4 separate regions of the Homo sapiens genome follow, and regions 2, 3 and 4 are each linked to region 1. The links are contacts of gene promoters, found by promoter capture Hi-C in human tissues and cell types (Jung and others, 2019). All regions are on one chromosome and are shown on one strand. The core of a region is centred on a gene start or on the middle of the fragment in contact, and the rest is flanking DNA. Distances in the headings are between cores, read along the strand shown.

Evidence for each region. Contacts are between HindIII fragments. The study calls those that stand out against the background at their distance.
Region 2: a contact is called between a fragment that was not itself captured here and the fragment with the promoter of ZNF70 in region 1, in 1 of the 25 tissues and cell types used here (spleen).
Region 3: a contact is called between a fragment that was not itself captured here and the fragment with the promoter of ZNF70 in region 1, in 1 of the 25 tissues and cell types used here (lymphoblastoid cells).
Region 4: a contact is called between a fragment that was not itself captured here and the fragment with the promoter of ZNF70 in region 1, in 1 of the 25 tissues and cell types used here (IMR-90 fibroblasts).

What each region holds. Positions count from the first base shown.
Region 1 is chr22:23,749,494-23,752,584 of GRCh38, forward strand. ZNF70 (zinc finger protein 70) reads right to left here and starts at 1,619. Exons shown (of 2, transcript NM_021916.4): 1 at 1,218-1,619. RefSeq lists a silencer at 1,335-1,784 and enhancers at 1,377-2,052, 1,935-1,994, 2,835-2,894. The HindIII fragment of the contact is 11,413 bases long and covers 1-3,091 here.
Region 2 is chr22:23,317,624-23,320,714 of GRCh38, forward strand. BCR (BCR activator of RhoGEF and GTPase) reads left to right here. Exons shown (of 23, transcript NM_004327.4): 23 at 1-414. It also overlaps the pseudogene POM121L11P. Among named protein-coding and RNA genes, the nearest start is that of LINC02556, 7.4 kb to the right of the region's middle. The HindIII fragment of the contact is 3,644 bases long and covers 1-3,091 here.
Region 3 is chr22:23,404,055-23,407,145 of GRCh38, forward strand. No RefSeq gene overlaps it. Among named protein-coding and RNA genes, the nearest start is that of LINC01659, 28 kb to the right of the region's middle. The HindIII fragment of the contact is 6,786 bases long and covers 1-3,091 here.
Region 4 is chr22:23,483,857-23,486,947 of GRCh38, forward strand. FAM230I (family with sequence similarity 230 member I) reads right to left here. Exons shown (of 12, transcript NR_165490.1): 1 at 3,023-3,091. Among named protein-coding and RNA genes, the nearest start is that of FAM230I, 1.6 kb to the right of the region's middle. The HindIII fragment of the contact is 4,580 bases long and covers 1-3,091 here.

The DNA of each region.
Region 1 (3,091 bases), core at 369-2,868:
CTCCAGGCTGGGCGACAGGACGAGACTCCGTCTCAAAAAAAAAAAAAAAAAAAAAAAAAAAGTAGCTGGGAATACAGGCTCTACAGGCACGTGCCACACCTGGCTAATTTTTGTATTTTTTGTAGAGATGGGTTTTCGCCATGTTGTGCAGACTGGTCTCGAATTTCTGAGCTCATGCGATCCACCCATTTTGGCCTCCGAAAGTGCTGGTATTATAGGCGTGAGCCCCCTCGCCCAGCCCTAAAGTATTTTCAAAAATTCTTTGATCACTTCAACTCCTCTCACCCTCCCCCTCCTCTTCAGCAACCCATAATCTCCAACTCTTCCAGCTCTCTCACTCAATTTGTGCTTTTCGACCTCATGAAATCCAAGCCATTTTTACTGTAGTTCTCCTTTTCTAGCTCCACCCCTTCTCCATCCAGCTTAGACTCTCCATACTATGCGCATCACTTCAACTCTCACGCTCTAGCACCATGCTCCTCACCTCCTCGTCCGGCTGCAACTAGCCGCTAAGTCCCAGTCTTCTCGGCCAGTTCCTCCTAAGTTGTTAAATGTTGCCAAGAAAAATCATACAACTATGTATGGCACCACGACAAATTTCGAGTTTCCGATTTCAGCTGGGACCTCAGCTCTGGCATTCTATGACCTCCTTATTGCCAATCCCTCTCTTCTCGGTCTTCACCTTCCCACCCCATCTGGCACTGCTCTCCAATACCTCCTTCTCAAAACCCTTCATTTCAGAGGTTGCAAATTGGCAGCCTGAAGATCCTGCTATGTTATGTTTGGCTCTCGAAGAGTTTGGCTTTTCCTGTTCATTTTCCTTAGTTACCAATATTTAAAACTCAGTAGGTTTCTGGCTTTCTCTTGAAAAACGAAGATGTGACAATATCCCTTCACCCGCCCACATTGCCTACCTAGGTGCATGAAAGCTTTGAGCTACCCCCCAACCCCATCCCCACCCTCGCTTTCTTCCCAATTTTCATGGCTTCCAAGTTCTCTTTCTTGATATCTTTAGATTGCAACTCTTCCTCCGCCCACCCATTAAGTCCTGGTGTTCTCAAACTTCCCTCCGTAGAGGTTTTCCATTCCCACTATATAGCCCCTACACCCTGAAGTCTCCACTCAGAAAAAAGTTGGCAACCCTTTATCTGTCTCCCACAACATGATAAGTGTTTTTGGACCGAAAATGCAAAGATCTGGAACTCCATGCTTCCCACCTCTGTCGGGGCCTTCTCCGGGTCCTCCTGCATCTGTCATCCCATCCTCCAGAGAGTCCCTAGGGCCTGGGCACCCTGCAAACTCTTAGTGCAGTCAAGGTTTCCTGGCTGGGGGCCCAAGAGTTGCCACGGACCCGCACACGCTGCCCAGGCGGCGACGTGGCGCCCCTACAGGCTTCCCCGCGATTGGGGACACGCACACCCAGGGCCACCGGAGGGACAGGTGGTCAGGCGGACTCAGGTCACACCGGCGGACGCGGGGCCACTCACCTGGGCCGGGGCGGGGCAGCTCACCTGGGCCGGGGCGGGGCCGCAGGCGGGCGGGGCGGGGCCGCACCTGAGCTGCTCCAACCCGCGGCCGACGCGGCCGACGCTGCCTGGCTCCACAGCAGCTGCTGACGCGGAGCCCGCGGCCGCCCGAGCACCCAGAGCCCCGCCCCCGGCCCGCGGGCACTTCCGGGACCACTCTAGGCCGCGCGGAGGTCCCGGCGTCTCGGTGGTCCCACCGCGCCGGTTGTCGCCGCGCGAAGCCGCCCGGGCCCCGGGACACAAGGACCCGAATCAGGAGAGTCTCTCCAGTCGGCATGGTGGCTCTGGCCGTCCCCGAAGCGCGTGCTGGACGTGGGGGAAACAGAGATGGGCAGGCGTTGGCAGGAGAGCAGAGGAGGAAACAGGTCCGGACGGGCGGGCCGACCTCGAGCCGCCGGCACTCGGGGCATCTGCGCTGGTGCTGGGTGCAAGCCAGAAGCCACTGAGGCAGCTGGGGTCTTCAGGGAAAGGAGAGTGGAGCCCCAGAGCTGTCGACCCTGTCACTGTCCACAGGCACCGGGGTCCTGTTAGGATCCCCCTCCCCCAACCTGCTTCAAGGGTAGCCCTGTTCCTGTCTGCCCTCCCCGCCCCCACAGAAATAGAGATGAGAAGGGGCAGGCGAAGAACTAGGAGTGTCTGCGAGACCATCCCAGGACCCTGAGCCCCCCAACTCTCTGCATCCCAGGGCTGACTTCGACATGAAGCGCCTCCTCTCAGGCGCACCGGGAGGGAAGAGGAATGTGTTCTTGAAATGGCCGCCCCCTTGGCCGGGCGCGGTGGCTCACGCCTTTAATCCCAGCATTTTGGGAGGCGGAGGCGGGTGGATCACGAGGTCAGGAGTTCGAGACTCAGCCAGACCAACATGGTGAAACCCTGTTTCTACTAAAAATTATCCGGGAGTGGTGACAAGCGCCTGTAATCCCAGCTACTGAGACAGGAGAATCGTTTGACCCTGAGAGGCGGAGGTTGCAGTGAGCCAAGATAGTGCCATTGCACTCCAGCCTGGGCGACAGAGCGAGACTCCATCTCAAAAAACAAAAAAAAAAAAAAGAAAAGGAATCTCCGCCCCCTCCTTGCTGCTGATGGCAAGACTGGCCCCTCCACCCAGTGTTCTGCCCATGACACCCCCCCCTCAGGTGCAGCTGCCCAGCTTGTGGGAGAGCTTCCCTCCGCAGACCTTGGCCCAATCACAGGACATCAGGAGAACACACTGTCCCTGGGAAAAAGGATTCTGCCCCAGCCGCCCACCTGCCTTCAGCACCCTCAGCCTTGGCGCTCGAGTGCCTCCAATGCTACCCACACACACCTGCCTTCCTGCCCCATTAATGCTCTGTCGGGCCTTGGGCACAGACTCCAAGGGGTAGGCAGTGGCTGCCCCTCCCCAAGCCAACAGCCTGAGCTCCATGGGGACCAGCCACCCTAGAGCCATAACCCTTGGACCATAACCAGCCATGCAGAGTTGGGGGCGGCAAGGGCTGGTTCCTTTTTCTCCCTCCGGCTCCTCAGGTCACAGGAAGGTCAGGCTACCAGTTTGAGCCCCCAGGGGGCCATGGTGGGGGAGTCTG
Region 2 (3,091 bases), core at 397-2,896, 430 kb before region 1:
TGTCTAATGATGGGATGACCACACTTTTCCATGTTCTAAAAGTGCTCCTCTCCCGCAGGGTCCCAGGGCTGGTGGTTGCTTTGGGTCTACAGCTACGTCTTACCCACCTCCTGCCTCAACAGCCTGTGTGGTGGCAAAGCCGGTGTGGGGCTGGGGAACGCAGCGTTCTCCAGGAGGGGGACCTGGCTCTCCTTCTGCAATGCAGGCGAAGGCCTAGATGCCAGTGTGACCTCCCACAAGGCGTGGCTTCCAGACTCCCCGGCCGGAAGTGATGCTTTTTTGCCTTGGGCCCTGGGTTTGAAGCAGCCTGGCTTTCTCTTGGTAAGTGGCTGGTGTCTTAGCAGCTGCAATCTGAGCTCAGCCACCTACACACCACCGTGGCCGACACTTTCATTAAAAAGTTTCCTGAGACGACTTGCGTGCATGTTGACTTCATGATCAGCGCCGCTGGGAAGAACCCCTGAGCCGGTGGGGTGGGGCTGGAAGCAGCAGGTGCAGTGATAGGGCTGGGTGCCCAGGAGGCCTCAGTGCTCAATCAGGCCAAGGTGGCCAAGCCCAGGCTGCAGGGAAGGCCGGCCTGGGGGGTGTGGGTGAGCACAGGCAGGCACCAGCTGGGCAGTGTTAGGATGCTGGAGCAGCATCCGTAACCCCACTGAGTGGGGTAGTCTGGTTGGGGCAGGGACCGCTGTTGCTTTGGCAGAGAGAGATGATCCCCACTGGGGAGAGGCTGTTCTGACTCTGCAGGTGGGACAGGGACAGATGGCCACCAGGGTGACCCGGCTGGTCTTCCTTTGCTATGCTAAGCCCTGGGACATGGAGGATTCCTGCCACCCTGGGCCCGGGTTCTTACCTGTGGCCACCGCTCTGGCACGAGCCCCTCAGTCTTGGGTGGTTTCTGCCTGGTCCGGGATTTGGTGTTGCTGCTGAGTCCAGCCTTTCCACCACCTCCGCATGGGCCGTGGGTGTTGTCAGCTGCCTCCCGCCTTGGCTTCAGTAGCTCACCCAGCTTACAGGGGAGCTGCCCTGGGCTGGAGATGGGCATGCACCCTGGGTCCTACTTGAATGAATGCAGCTTGAGGAGAGCCGGCCATATACACTGGGCCACAGGTTACCCTCGGCAATGCCCACAGCTGTCAGCCTGAGCCTCCCCAGGAGAGCAAGGCTCACACGACAAAGGCTGCCCGTGGCCAGTGAGGTGGCTGAGCCCAGCCAGGACCTTTCTCGGACTCCCGGGATGTGGCTCTGCTCGTGAGCTGCCTGGTCAGCTCTCTCGGGGTGAGAGGGGCTTGTCACACGGGCGCCTGCCTGCAGTGTGACCCTTCTCAGCTTCTCTCAGCAGCCCTGCCTGCGGAGTGTCACCGCCACCATGATCATTTCCCTGACACTGCGAGGGTGGGGGGACGTCCTGGGTAGAGACAGGGCCCGTGGCAGCAGCAGGCTCAGGGGAGCCCTGCACTGGTGGACTGGGGACCTGGTGGAGACCACGCCAAGGGCTGGACAAGGGGACGAGCCTCCACCCTGGCCTCTCCGCAGGCCTCAGCAGCCCCTCCCACAGGCAGAAGGGTTGACACTGGGTTCTGCCCTCACTGCAAGAGCTGCAAGTGCCACGTGCTGTTCTGCCCAATCTGGTGTCTGCAGGTGAGGAAAGGACTGCCGCTGGCCCGTTTCTGAGTGTTCAGCACCTAAGGGTGACAGCACTGTCTGTCCCTACCCTCCGGGTCCTGTTTGAAGATCAAACCCATGCTCACAGGCCGATATTTTTTTCTTTTAGAGACAGGGTCTCACTTTGTCACCCAAGCTGGAGTGCAGTGGTGCGATTATAGCTCAATGCAGCCTCCAATTCCCGGACACAAGGGACCTTCCTGCCTCAGCCTGCCAAGTAGCTTGGACTATAGCTGTGTGTTTTCTTATTATTTTGTAGACATGGGGTCTGGCTATGTTGTCCAGGCTATTCTCAAAATTCCCAGCCTCAAGCAATCCTCCCGCCTCAGCCTCTCAAAGGTTGGGATTACAGGTGTGAGGCAAGGCACCCAGCTCAGCCACAGAGCCCTATTGCATCTCTCTTACTAAGAGCAAGAGCTGACTTCCCCCTCATCCCCATTCCAGAGTGTTGGGGCTGTGTTCAGCCGAGGCCAGGCCACTGGCATGGGCCCAGGGAGCGGGATCATTCACTGCTGCCCCAAATCTGAGATCATTCCACCTTGACAAGACTTCCTCATCCAATCCCTTTACTTGACAGCTGGGGAAACCAGTGCACACAGAGCACCCCCAGCTCAGTCAGGGTCTCAGAGCTGATCCATGAGCGGAGGCTGAGATCCTGGGATCTTGTCCCCCAGCCTCCCTGCAAGCTTACTCCCTTTCTTCTAGAAGAGATGGGGCCAGACCTCGACCAGCAGCCCTGGCCTGGACATGACTGTGCTCATGCAGGTATTGAGGCTGAGATGCCCCGGCATCACATTTTTTTCTTTCTTTTTTTCTTTTTTTTTTGAGACGGTGTCTCACTCTGTCACCCAAGCTGGAGTGCAGTGGAATGATATTGGCTCACTGCAACCTCTGCCTCCCGGTTAAAGTGATTCTCCTGCCTCAGCCTTCCAAGTAGCTGGGCCTACAGGCTTGTACCACCACGCCTGACTAATTTTTGTATTTTTACTAGAGACGGGGTTTCCTCATGTTGGCCAGGCTCGTGTCGAACTCCTGACCTCAGGTGATCCACCTGCCTTGGCCTCCCAAAGTGCTAGGATTACAGGCATGAGCCATGGCATCACTTAAACGTAGTGAGAGGCCGGGCGCAGTGGCTCATGCCTGTAATCCCAGTACTTTGAGAGGACGAGGCTGTCAGATCACCTAAGGTCAGGAGTTCGAGACCAGCCTGGCCAACATGGTGAAACCGTGTCTCTACAAAAAAACAGAAAAAAATATCCCTGCGTGGTGGTGAGTACCTGTAGTCCCAGTTACTCAGGAGGCTGAGGCATGAGAATCGCTTAAACCTCGGAGGCGGAGGCTGCAGTGAGCTGAGATGGCGCCACTGCACTCCAGCCTGGGTGACAGAGCAAGACTTTGTCTCTAAATAATTAAATAAATAAATACGGCC
Region 3 (3,091 bases), core at 384-2,883, 350 kb before region 1:
GTCGCACAGAAGGTGAGGTGGGGCCCAGACACCCCCCAGCCACTCTGCCCCCTGGCCTCCTGAAGGGGTGGGCTGTGCACACACTGCCACCTCCCCAGGGGGTACTGGCTGCCAAGTGCCACCATCTCAGCCCTTGCGGTGGCTCAACGGGTCCTCCCAGAGCCACATCAAGACGTCGTCATCCATTGCACAGATGGAGAACCTCAGGCGAAGCTCACATAGCCAGTGGGAGGCTGAGGCCTGACCCCCAAACAAGCATTCTTCCTCCAGGGTCCCTGCACACAGCAGCCTTCAGACTAGGAACTGAGCTCTTGCCACAGGGATGTATCAGACCCTAGATGAGTCATGTGGCACTGGCCATCAGTCTGAGGACAGCACTGGGGTGGACCAGGCTCCAGTCTTGGGCTGCTCTGTGCTTGCAGAGAGGCCTTGAGACACTTCTGTGCTTACTGTGCAGGCGTCACTTCCATTATCAGTGACCCAGAGCGGCCCACTACAGCTGAAGATTGTGACCCCACCCCCTCTCTCATAGGTTTAATGCCCCTCCCACCCCTCCTGGAGCAGCCGAAGTGACCATTCTGGGGCATGGGATGGGCATGGGAGGAAATGGGGAGCCAGGGCTGCCCTGGAGACTTCTGGTATCAGAACCCTCTCCAGCCACCAAGCCCAGCTGTCCCCAGTTGCTCTGGGTTGGGGCCTGGGCCTCCACTTCCCCACAGGTCTGTGCAGTGGGAGCAAGGCAGAGGCCCGCAGAGGGACAGGCTGGTTTCCTGTGTCTGCCAGCTTGGTCAGCACCTTGGCCAGCGCCCTCCCCGCTGGAAGCTGGGCCCACTCCTCGGTACTGGCTGGCTGATTAGGTGTGGGCCAGCGCTGACAGGGAGTTATGGGGGTGCAGAGGCAGGACAGGCCATCTGTGCCCAGCTGATCTGAGTGCCCAGGTTTTCTGGACACGTGACCCTGGGGATCAGGAATGAGCTGGAGACTGGAGACAGCTGTGCCCTCAGGGCTGGACAGACCTGTCACACCCTGCCTGGGCTAGGTCAGCAGGGCCACACAGGCATCTGCCTCAGTTGCTCCCCACCTCACACCCACCCTGTAGGGCACATCCTCTGCCAGTTTGCTCAGCCCACCAACCCCCTCCAATGAGGCCAGAGGCTGCCTCACCTCCAATACCCACCCCCAACCTGGGGCTCGGCTGAGCAGGGGTCAAGAAGGGCGAGCACGCATTTCGAACTTGCCCTGGTTTTGAGCTGAGGGAAGCAGAGGATGCAGGAGTTGCCCACTCCAGAGGCCCTGGGTGTGCGTGAGGAGCCCTGAGGCTGGGCTGAGCCGCTTGTGGGAGACACTGTGCCCCCTCCATCTGAGATCGGGGCCTGGGTGCCCGGGACACTACAGACCTTTTGGGGAACCTGGGAGTCGGGAAGTCTAGAGATGGGACCCACAGGCTGGAGTCTGGGCTTTCATCCACACTCCCCCCGCCCGACACTCCCCCAGCCACCGCCTGCACATCAGGGGAGACAACATGCCCCCACGCCCACCTCTGTCCCCAGCAGGGCTGTTCCTCCCCTCATCTGCTCGGATCAGTGTTTTCTTTAACTGAGCCCCATGGTGGCGAAGGGAGAGCTCCAGCGGACCAGGCAGCAGAGAGGGGAGGGGAGAAGCCCTCAAACAGGCCATGCGCTCTCCACAGAGCCGCATACAGCAGGAGGGGGCTGGGCAGCCGGCTCAGAGCCCATTCTCTCCTGGGTACTCTTCTGGAATGGCCCCCGGCCCCACTCTGTTCCAAACATGGGACCGTCCAGCCTGGGCAACAAGAGTGAAACTCCATCTCAAAAAAAAAAAAAAAAAGTAGGAATTAACTAAGGAGGTGAAAGACTTGTACAATGAAAAGTACAAAACATTAGTGAGAAAAATTAGACATAAATAAATGGAAACATATTCCATGCTCATGGATTGGAAGACTTTATATTGTTAAGATATCAATAATACCCAAAACAATCTATAAATGTAATGCAATCTCTACCAAAATACCATTACTTTTTTGCAGAAATAGAAAAACCTATCCTAAATTCATATGAAATATCAAAGGGCCCCGAATAGCTAAAGCAATCTTGAAAAAGAAGAACAGAGCTGGATAAGTCACATTTTCTGATTTCAAAACTTACTACAAAGCTACAGTAATCTAAACAGTGTGGTACTGACATAAAGATAGACATACAGACTGATAGAATAGAGAGCCCAGATGTATAGTCAAATGATTTCTGATGAGGGTGCCAAGACCATTTAATGGTGAAAGAACAATCTTTTCGACAACTGGTGCTGGGAAAACTGAACATCCACACACAAAAGAATGAAGCTGGATCTTTACCTAATAGCATATATAAAAATTAACTCAAAATGGAACAAAGACATAAATGTAAGACTAAAACAATAAAACTCCTAGAGGAAAACATAGAGGAAAAGCTTCATGACACTGGATTTGGCAATGATTTCTTGCATATGACACCAAAAGCACTAATAGCAAAATAAAAAGACAAATTAGACTTCATGAAAATTAAATTTTTATGTGCATCAAAATACACTATCAACAGAGTAAAAAGACCACACACAGAATGGAAGAAAATATTTTAAAATCATATACCTGATAAAGGATTAATAAACAGGATATATAGAGAACTACTAAAACTCAACAACAAAAAAACCACCAACCCAATTTAAAAAATGAGCAAAGCAGCCAGGCACTGTGGCTCACATCTATAATCCCAGTACTTTGGGAGGCCGAGGAGGGTGGGTCACTTGAGGTCAGGAGTTCAAGACCAGCCTGGCCACCATGGCAAAACCCCGTCTCTACAAAAAACACAAAAATTAGCATGGCATGGTGGTGCATGACTGTAGTCCCAGCTACTCGGAAGGCTGAGGCACGAGAATCACTTGAACCCAGGAGGCGGAGGCTGAAGTGAGCCGAGATCACAGCACTGCCCTCCAGCCTGGGTGACACAGTGAGACTCTGTCCACCCCCTCCAAAAAAAAAAAAAAAAAGAGCAAAGGACTTAACTAGACATTTTTCTAAAGGTATACAAATGGCCAGCAA
Region 4 (3,091 bases), core at 149-2,648, 270 kb before region 1:
AGTGAGCTGAGATCGTGCCACTGCACTCCAGCCAGGGCAACAGAGTGAGACTCCATATCAGAAAAACAAAACAAAACAAAAAAACCGGCAGGGTGCAGTGGCTCACGCCTGTAATCCCAGCACTTTGGGAAGCCAACGTGGGCGGATCATGAGGTCAGAAGATCAAGACTATCCTGGCTAACACAGTGAAATCCCGTCTCTACTAAAAACACAAAAAATTAGCCAGGCGTGGTGGCATGCGCCTGTTGTCCCAGCTACTTGGGAGGCTGAGGGAGGAGAATTGCTTGAGTCCAGGAAGCAGAGGTTGCAGTGAGCCGAGATTGTGCCAGTGCACTCCAGCCTGGGCAACAGAGCAAGACTCTGCCAAAAAAAAAGCCCCCCCCCAAAAAAATCAATTATTAAAGATTAGAAAATACTGAAATGCTTATATTTTAAAATAACCACTATAACCGTACATTTTCCGTTCAGTCTTCCTTTGCCCTGTGTTTGCAGTCATCATGTGAGGAGCTACCTATGTTCAGCCCAGGCAACCCACAGGGAGAGAGGGCAGAGCGGGGAGATGGCCCCTGGTGAGCACTGAGGCTCTTCGAACCAGCTGTCAAGGGAGTTGCAACCAGGGTGATACATGAGACTAATGATTAAGTGGTATTTTGTGTTCTTGTCTTGTCCCCAGGTTGTGTAGCTCACAGACTTTTTTTTAACATTTCTTTAGCGGTCATTTGAAGTTCATAATGCCATCAAATATCAATAAAGGGTCTTCCCATTATTTATCAGCTTTGGGATATGTGCTGAGGAGTGGCCGAGCGCTGAAAGAATGTGATCGGTTGTCCCAAGTGCTGTTCTCCAACTCAAAATCCGCAACCAGTTCAAAAGCATTTGGACTTTTATGTGCCTTTCACATAAAGACTATGACATACCTAAGTTATTCATGTACTAATACCTGCCCTGAGCTATGTGACCATGGACACCATGCTATAATGTGGCTAGTGTGTAGGAACTCTGCAGGCTCAGATCATTCCAGACATACATGCAGATGTTGGAAGTCCTTTGCACAGTGACTCATGATCCCACAGCTGAGTGCTGAGGGCAGGTCAGTAGTTCAGAGCCTCAGCATTGGGGCCCTATGCTTGGGTTCCCATCTTGGCTCTTTTGCTTAGGGGCTCATAAGCTTGGGCACATTCATCTCCGTCTTTTTCTGCCCAGCAAAAGATGATAGTAAATCAATCATGCCATATGTCTGTGGTGATGGCTGAATGATTCGATGTAGGTAAAGTATACAGCATAAGTGCTCATGAGGCTTAATTATCAGTGAAATGTCTTGCTTTAGATTTCACAGCTTAATAAGGCTCAGAGACTCATTCAAGTCCAGGATTCTGAACTCCCAACCCATTGCTCTATGAAATACACCTGCTTGGCCTAAACCCAACCACTTTATCATAATTCAGACCCAGTTTTGAAAGAAGCAGATAAAGTTGTCAAAAGTGCTGTGTCTGCCTGAGTGCACACTCAGTGCCCTCCATGATAAATAATGGGAAGAACCGTTATTGATATTTGATGGCATTACAAACTTCAAATGACAGCTATAGAAATGTTAAAAAAAAAAGTCTGTGAGCTACACAACCTGGTGACAAGACAAGAACACAATATACCACCTAATCATTAGTCTCATGTATCACCCTGGTTGCAACTCCCTTGACAAAGGATACCACTATCTGCCACAACGACCCAGTGGCCTGGCTGGCACAGACAGGGGCAGAGCAAAGGGCAAGAGATCCCTAATCCCATCACTATGACGATAGGGCATCATAGACAGTTCAGGGTGAAGGCACAATCCACATTGTGAGGTCCAACTGCTGCCATGTAGACAGGCGTGCTTTTACATATACAGGAAGGTCATTGAAGATAAGTGTTTTATATCCACGATCAACATATGAGATGACCATGAAATGAACACCAGTGTACTGGGTGGAGCAGCTTATCTATTCAGTCTTCTGCACTAAAACCTGTGAAAGAATATCATGTTGCCTTATTTACTAACAAATACAAGTGCCTCTAAACTTAGTTTCCAACTCACAGAACTGATGAGCACTTAGCTCCTAGAGAGAGCTCTGGATGATGGGTCGGGAGAACTAAGTCACACAATACATCAAAACAGCATTAACAAGTAAACAGGTTTTCAAAGCTTTCTACATGCAAACTTACACAATTATCCCTTTAATTTTTATCTTCATATATATGTATATGATCTATTTGTTTCTGAGTATAAATAAAACTGTATGTTCTTAGTTAACAGTCTCTACCAATTCATTCTATTTATCTTTCTGTGTTGAAATACTGCATTTCATTGGGAAACAAAAAAAAAAAAAAATTTGACTAAGACTACTCTGGAAAGGTGAGTAGGTTGGGTGATTGACTGTAATTGACAATTCTATGATTTTGGATAACTCCCAAAGCATAAAAATAAATGTTTTTTATTTCACACACAGACAATACGCATTCTTATTACATTTAAAATTGATATGTGAATGGACATGACTTACTACAAATTTATTAAACTAAATACACATTTCACAACAAAAGAAGAGAGGAAGGAAAAACATGTCAAAAACAAAGATAGGTACATTTTATTGTGTGAAAAGCCTCAAACCCATCTGTACTACTGTGGCTTTTCTCCAAACTTTTTGAAAGTAATGATTTCATAGGTTCTTAATTAGGTTAAAAACTACATTAAAATAGACTTTGCCATATTCTCCTCAAGGGAATAACTTAATTTGGGGCGGGAGCATTGAAGGGTGCAGGATGTAAAAGGAAATGATACATATTTTTTAAATGAAGAAAAAGTTCAAAAGCACCCTGCTTGATACAAGAATCAAATATATAAAATGAGGAATAAAACATAACCACAAAACTTATTTATAACTGCATATGGAAAATACAGAGGATAATTTTTTAAATAACATATTTTGAAAGTATTAACTAGTAATTTGAAAAGACAGCATTTGACAGGCCAGTATGAACATACCTCGAATGCAGGAAAAGTGGATCCCCATAAGAAAAATCAAAATCAGGAAAAATGAAAGCACAAAGGTTC